2 separate regions of the Homo sapiens genome follow, and region 1 is linked to region 2. The links are contacts of gene promoters, found by promoter capture Hi-C in human tissues and cell types (Jung and others, 2019). All regions are on one chromosome and are shown on one strand. Each heading gives the region's core, a stretch centred on a gene start or on the middle of the fragment in contact. The rest is flanking DNA. Distances are from core to core; before and after follow the strand shown.

Region 1 (4,281 bases), core at 513-3,012, 160 kb after region 2:
GTGGGATCCAAGACAACAGAATCCTTCTTTTAACAACTCTGACAACATCTCCCTTTGGTCTGAGTTTGCATGTCTGACGCCCAAATCCATGATAGCAGTCTGGGCCTCCCACCAAGTCTTTTCATTTGAGTGCATTTTAAAGTTATGAAGTACTTCAAGTGCACTGAAAAAAAAATAGAGACAAAAATCCACCTCCTGCTCAGATTCGATGAAACAATGTGTCCCATGCAAGGGACATCAGCAAGATTCCAATACGAGAAGTAGCTGGTGCCATGAGAGAGAAGGAGCCTTGGGCCAGTAGACAGAGCTCTGAACCTGGTTGTGAAGGCCTGGATTCCAGTCCTCACTCTGCTCCCAAAGCTCTGAAAGCCCCAGGGAATCCTGCTCTCTGTGCCTCAGTCCCCACAGTCTCCCTGTTAGTTTCTCCTTATTTTTCCAACCTCTCTACATGGGGATTCCCTGGGCTCAGCTCTTTGGCCTCTTTTCTTTCCTCTCTACCCTCACTCCCTAAATAATCTCATCTAGGCTTATGACATTTAAAACCACCTAAATGCTGATGGCTCTCCAATTTCATCTCTAGCTTGGGCACCTCCTCTAAACCACAGGCGTGATATTTCAACTGCCACCTTCGCATTTCTCATGTTTAATGTCTAACAGAATGCCCATGTCCAAAACTGAGGTCCTCATATTGCCCCAAAATTTGTTCCTCACGGCCTTCCTCATCTCAGAAAGTAGACACTCCATTCTTCCAGTTGCACAGGCCAAAAATCTTGGGGCGTCTTTGACTCCTCTCTCTCTCATACTGCACATCTGAGTCACCAGCAAATCCTCTCAGCTCCACCTTTAAAGTACATCCAGACTCAACCACAGCTGCTACCACCCTGGAACGGGTCACTACAGCCTCTTGCAAGGAGTACTGCAGGAGCCTCCTGGCTAATATTTCCTCTTTCATTCTTGTATCTCTATGGTCTGTTATCAACTGGGTGACAGTAAATTGGGTAACATCACCCTGCCACTCAACTTCTCCAGTGGCTTCCTATCTAATTCAGATTAAAAACCAGTGTTCTGACAGTGACCTGATCCCCGTTACCACTCTGGTCCTACTGCACACATTAGCCTCCTCATGTATGAACATTTCAGGATGCTCCTGCCTCAGGGCCTTGGCACCTGCCATTCCTCTTATTTGTTTCCTTCATCTTTTTTTTCCCCCAGTGTCATCCTCTTAGTAAGGCCTTCCCTCACTACCCAATTTAGATTGTAACTTCATTCCCTACCTTTCCTATCTCCCTTGCCTACTTTGTTCTTCTTCTTAGTATGTAACCCTATCTAATATACCACACATCTCAACTTACATTGTGTATTGTCTAGCTCCTCTATCCACAATAACAGCAATTTAGTAGCTCTTCTCTGCCATATCCCCAAGTGCCTAGAAAAATATCTGACACATAATATGCACTCAATAAACATCCATTAAATGAATGAATCTTGAAAATAGGGAATATTTTACGACATTCTGTAAATATCATTATGACCCTATTAAGATGGTGATGTAGGATTATTGAGCTTGTTTTAAAAGAAGTGAAAGGATAAGAAAAAGACGGAAATTTCATCACTATCACCCAAGTTCTTGTATAAAACAACACCTCTCAAGGTAACTGCCTTTAAAAACTTGAATTCCTTTAGAGAAAAGTCAGAGAGTAAGACATATGTTTGTTTCCAGATAAGAAAGGGAAAGAAAGATGTTATGAAGGTTTCAGATAAGAGGGTCAAACACCAAATCAACCTAGGCAGACTGAAATCCTGGGGTAACAATCAGATGACCTGTTGGAAGGGTCAGGGTTAGGACACCATTCCAAATTCCCCTCCTTCCCCAAAATAGGGCTAAGTAGCAGTTTGTGATTAAGGTCAAAGCTGGCAGAGACCCTTCGGGCACTTTATCTGATTGCTTTACAAATAAGGAAACTGATATCTAGGGGAGAGGAAAGACTACGTCGCCCAAGGCCAGCAGCCTAGATAATGGTTAAACCAGGTCTGAAACCAAGGTTTTCTGACTCCAAGGCCAATGAGCTCTTCTATACCACAACCACTAATGCAACCACCTCTACAGGACTCTGTAACAGCATAGTCATATAACAGGCGGATTTCATTTCCCTGGTGCATGTGGCAGTACCCAAGCAATGCCAAAAATGACTCCAAAGGAAATTCCTTAGCTAGGAGTCCCACAGAGAACCAGAATGGGACTTGGAAAAGAACTAAATTCCTCTGGAGTATTCCAGCCAATGGGAAGGGAGCCCAGAAAATTACTGGTGTTTTCTGTTTAAAGAGATGTTTTTAAACAGCTATCTTTGAAGAATGAAGAGTGACCATCGTGCTTCTGGAAAAATGAAATCATTGCTTTGAAATAAATATGAGGGAAGAAAATAAATAACTCTACAGTTAATAAATAAACCATTTCAAAGCTGCAAAATTAACCCTTGCCTTTTTTTTTTTTTTTTTAAGTATTTACCAACCAAGCTTAACTGAAATCATAGAGAAGGAAGAGCCTTTCAGGACTCAAAGAGGAAGCTGCAAATTAGAAGGGAAAGAGGATGAAAGAAGAGCATGAGCATTCAGTGAGCATGTGCCCTATAGCAGGCATTATCGTAGACAGAGTATTCTTTATTCCTGGCAATAGCCCTCCAAGGCAGATAGGATTATTTCCATTTTGATGAGGAGGAAAATGAGGCTTGCTTGAGGTTACAGAGCTGGTAAGTAGCAGAACCAGCACTCAAGTGTTTTCTGACCCCAAATTTCATGATCTTCTCTTACCCCATGATATACAATGCTAGTCAAGTTTCCTAATTTCTCTGGGCTTCAATTTCTCATCTGCAAAATAAGGGCCCTAGCTCAAAGCATCTCTAATTTGTCTTATAGCTCTGATAGTCTATGGACTTACTATGTCGGACATATTCCTTCCTTGGCAGTCCTCTCAGTTCTCAGGGCTCCTGAACCCCAGAAGGAATCCTCCCATTGAGCTGGTCCTCTGTCAAGATGGGCATGAGGAAAGCAATAGAGATAACAATTTTTCTCAACCCTACACCAAGAATTTCAGCCTCTGGAACTATAATTCAGTGCTTGTAGTTCTCTTCCTGGCTTGAACATCAAGACAAGCAAACAAAAGCTCCAGTGGGAGAGGCCCAGGATCCAGGAATTTCCCTGAGGAGTTTATTTATAACACATAAGATACATCTAACAAGTTCATTATGTGGCATGTGGCAATGTGTGCAAAGAAAGAACTATCACAGAGAAATCTTTGCCAAGACAGAAGCAAAGCCCATGAGCAAACCCAGAATTCCCCATCTGCAGCAAGTATAAGAGGCAGTAAGAGAGGCAGGTGAGGCCTCCTTAGATTGAAACATCTTCCTAGCAGATCAGGAAGAGTCTTGGGAAACAGTTCTGGACTAAAACTAGGTGAGACTTGGATGCTTTGCTCTACCATCACCTGACAGTAGGCCCCGGGGTTAGTTACTCCCACACTCTCACCACATTTTGTCATTTTTGAAATGAAGTGATTGAGCCTCTAATGGTTCTTCCAACTCTAACATCCCATGACTCTGTAAATACTTGCTTCCCTAAGTAGACTTTGAGAATCATAAAGTCTTGCAGTTGGAAGGAGACCCTATGAAATGGAAAGCAGAGGGAAATATACTTGTTCTTAGCAGGAGCATCTATTCTATTCTTGAATGGATAAAATGAAGAGGAAAGAGTGTAGGCTGGAAACGGAATGAGTTGGAATTAGCCTGGCAAAGAGAAAAGAGGAACAGATGGAACAGCATGTGTGAGGTATCATTATGGCCCTGCGTGGAGGCCGGGTTGTAGGAAGACAAGAACAGGGAGAACAGTTGAGTGTGTTGCAGTGAAATGGCAGACGAGGCAGATCCAAACCCATGTTCCCCTCATAGAAACATTAAAACAACCAGAAACTCAATGAAATTAACTTTATAGGAGTGTTGGAAAATGGTAAAAGGTCCACAGCAAAGAAGTGAAGGCTCAGTCAAGAAAAAGCCACATTCAAAACATCAGGAAATTCATGGTGTTTTTACTCACCCTTGACCCACACTTTCCCTGGTGTGGCACAGGGAGATGCAGCAGCCCATGCCCAATATCCTCCTTTAGAACAGAAGGAGCAGATCAGACCTTATTTGCAATGTTTTAACATCTTTGTGGGGCTGCCTGGAGGGCTAATCTCCCTCTTTAACCTAGGGTCGCAGGCATGGGAGTCTGCTTTAAAAAGCTCCACAG
Region 2 (3,756 bases), core at 473-2,972:
TAAAAAAAAAATTCAAGGGTTATATTGGCAGCATCAAAAGAGACGATGTATGTGAAAACACTTTGTAAACTACAAAATGCTTTTCAAAAGCTGATTGATATTTTCCAAAAGTACACTGGTAGGTTGCTTTTCCGATCTCGAAATGACAATCAAATCAAATCATCCCAACAGGAGAAACACCTTCTTTCTGTTTGGAGGAGTGCCAAAACGTTGTAAGACATCATGAGTCCCTCAAAAAGCTCTGGCTGGTGTGGACAGAAATATTTACACATTTCCCTGGATTAGAAAGCAGAGCAACATGACTGCTATACGGGCTCTGACAAGTGACTTGAGAACTGTTCTGGAGACGTTTAGGAGGCTTTATTTAAACAACAGATTCTGCAGCTAAAAATAAGCATATACTGTATTTGATACAATATATAATAATACATATATTATTTATAAATTTATTATTCTGAAATACATAGTACATATGTATATATAATTATATATCATTTATGTATACATATACATATATATTTTATCTTATCCCATTATCTTATGGGAATGTATACGAAGGAATACTTACTCTGCCTAGGAGAACCAGAGAATGCTTTTAGGAGGAGGAGGCACTAGAGTGGGCCTTGAAGGATGAGCAGGGAGGGGTGAGGGGAGGGTCTGCTGAACAAGCAGAACTCCATGAACAAGAGTGTGGAAGTCTGAAGATGCATGGCATAGCTAATAGTCCATAAGGAATGGAGTAGGCCATACCTGAGGCAGGATGGGGCAGGCAGGCAAGCTGAGTAATAGGTCAGATGAAAACTATACCGAAGGTCCTGTGTGTCATTTAAAAATAAATTTGATTATCCAGGTCAGCAATTCTCACCCTCCTAACATGGTCAAGGAAACTGGTTCCTGCAACCTGGAGGCTTGCTGGGGGTTAAAGAGGGAAGTGGTGAGTAAGGGAGGAGTATTACTTGGTGACTCCATGAACTGGGTTTTAGATTTAGTTTTTGCAACATCATTCTATACTATTATCCCCAGGCCTTCAGTAAAGCAATGTTCAGAGTAACTGCTTGATCTTAGCCAATTCTTAAGATATTTAAAAAAAAAAAAAAGGCTCCGTCCCAGGCTTGTACTGAACAGTGCCAAGGCTTGGAGAGCTGGTGCAGCTGGGGGAAGCTGGTCAGGACTGCTGGGGAGACTGCAAAAGACTCTAGAGGTAGTCTGGAACAAATGACGTGGTGAGAAACTAGAAGGGAAAATTTATGGAATAGGGAGCCTTCTCCAGGGTTTTCCAGAAATATTTACGGAGGGAAACCTAGTAAAAGAAGAAACTTCCAGCAGTTAAACAAAATGGAGGTTTGGAGTCGTCTTATCATGTCGACCCTAAAGAGTACTATGACCACAATAGGATGGAGGCCCTGGTGACATTTACTCCTTCAACAAGCTCTCAGAGGAATAAATCATGCTAAGCTGAGCCTGAGCCTCTCTTCTCAGAAGAGCTATTGCCTGGGAAACCCACACTCACCAGCCAAATGCTCTCTGTTGGTATTGCTTCCACCCTTGAGCCAGGCAGTCTAGCTGAAGGTTGCCATCCAACTTCAGCGTCCATGTGGCCCGGGGTTTTGCCTCTTGGATTAGTTCTTGAAATGTCTGCTCCCAAGTCCAGAAATCTACAACCATTTTTTCCCTCTGAAGCTGAGAGAGTAGCTTTCAGGTTTGCTCGTTTCTCAGGAAGAGACAAACAGTTTCAGTTTCGGTGTTCGGTTCAGTTTCTGTTTCTGTGTATGGACATGAGCTGTTTTTTTCAACCTTCATTTTAGACTGTCTGAGTACACAGAACAAGTCTTTGTTCTGAAAACAGACAGCAGCAAAACTGTGTTAGTTAATAGGCCTTGCTGAGAGAGAGATAAAGAGCTCTGTTCTAGATTCTGGGGTCACATATAAATTCGCTTTTATTTTCTCTCTCTCATTTTTTATAATAGGCAAAGTGAGAGGTGACAGCATGCTGGTAGCCCTCGCAGCCCTCGCTCGCTCTCGGAGCCTCCTCGGCCTCGGTGCCCACTCTGGCCGCGCTGGAGGAGCCCTTCAGCCAGCCACTGCACTGTGGGAGCCCCTTCCTGGGTAGGCCAAAGCCAGAACCGGCTCCCTCAGCCTGCTGGGAGATGTGGAGGGAGAGGCACGGGCAGGAACCGGGGCTGCATGCAGGGCTTGCAGGCCAGCTAGAGTTCTGGGTGGGCGTGGGCTTGGCGGGCCCTGCACTCGGAGCGGCCGGCAGGCCCCCAGCCCTGGGCAGTGAAGTGCTTAGCACCTGGGCCAGCAGCTGCGGAGGGTGCGCCAGGTCCCCCAGCAGTGCCGGCCCACCGGCACTGAGCTCGATTTCTCGCTGGGCCTTAGCTGCCTCTCTGTGGGGCAGGGCTCGGGACCTGCAGCCCGCCATGCCTGAGTCTCCCCACCCTGGGCTCCTGCATGGCCCAAGCCTCCCCGACGAGTGCCACCCCCTGCTCCATGGTGCCTGGTCCCATCGACCGCCCAAGGGCAGAGAAGTGCGGGCACACACGCAGGACTGGCAGGCAGCTCCACCTGCTGCCCCCGGGGCGGGATCCACTGGGTGAAGCCAGCTGGGCTCCTGAGTCTAGTGGGGACTTGGAGAACCTTTATGTCTAGCTAAGGGATTGTGAATACACCAATGGGCACTCTGTATCTAGCTCAAGGTTTGTAAATGCACCAATCAGCACCCTGTGTCTAGCTCAGGGTTTGTGGATGCACCAATCAGCACCCTGTCAAAACGGACCAATCAGCTCTCTGTAAAACAGACCAATTGGCTCTCTGTAAAATGGACCAATCTGCAGGATGTGGGTGGGGCCAGATAAGAGAATAAAAGCAGGCTGCCCCAGCCAGCACTGACAACCGGCTCGGGTCCCCTTCCACGTGGTGGAAGATTTGTTCTTTTGGTTTTTGCAATGAATCTTGCTGCTGCGCAGTGTTTGGGTCTGCTCTGCCTTTATCAGCTGTTAACACTCACCCGGAAGGTCTGCAGCTTCACTCTTGAGCCAGCAAGACAATAAACCCACCAGAAGGAAGAAACTCAGAACACATCCGAACATCAGAAGGAACAAACTCTGGGCACTGTGCCTTTATGAGCTGTAACACTCACCATGAGGGTCGGTGGCTTCATTTTTGAAGTCAGTGAGACCAAGAACCCACCAATTCCGGACACAAAAGCACTGTTTTTGGCACTGGGAAAAGAGTATCCTGTAGCTAAGAAACAATTCCTGCCCCCACAGATGCTCACACCCAGGTGGAGACAGGGAGGTTAGGAGCAGCGTAGGGGAGCACGTGTTTAATGCTCATCTCCTACACCCCATGTATCCTCACCAGTCCCGCGAAGGATTATTCTTGGAGTTTTGCAGGTTAACTGCACAGAAAGCTGGGGTACTTTGTCCAAATCCCCTCAGTTAACGAGCAGTGGAAGTGAGACTTGAACCCGGGTCTGTGTGACTCCAAAACCTGCCATGTGTCCGCCCACCTCACTCCCTGAAGAGAAGCTGAGAATGGCATTTCAGGTTCCAGGCTGGCACACTGGAGCCAGTGTCAGAGGAACCGTAGGGAGATTTCCTGGGTCCTGAGGCAGGAGGTCAGCTGCATGAAGGGATTATCAAACTCTGCCCTCCACTCTGTAAATTATGTGGAAGGGCAAATACGCACAGGTGTGGGGGCCGTCTTTCAGTGGTAGGATACAGAGAATTCCCATTTTGGGGTAAGGGATTGAGA

The links. Contacts are between HindIII fragments. The study calls those that stand out against the background at their distance.
Region 1: a contact is called between a fragment that was not itself captured here and the fragment with the promoter of RTP4 in region 2, in 1 of the 25 tissues and cell types used here (aorta).

What each region holds. Positions count from the first base shown.
Region 1 is chr3:187,208,638-187,212,918 of GRCh38, reverse strand. No RefSeq gene overlaps it. Among named protein-coding and RNA genes, the nearest start is that of RTP1, 13 kb to the right of the region's middle. The HindIII fragment of the contact is 6,887 bases long and covers 1-4,281 here.
Region 2 is chr3:187,366,351-187,370,106 of GRCh38, reverse strand. RTP4 (receptor transporter protein 4) reads right to left here and starts at 1,722. Exons shown (of 2, transcript NM_022147.3): 1 at 1,511-1,722. The coding sequence starts at 1,665. RefSeq lists an enhancer at 1,512-1,861. The HindIII fragment of the contact is 7,845 bases long and covers 1-3,756 here.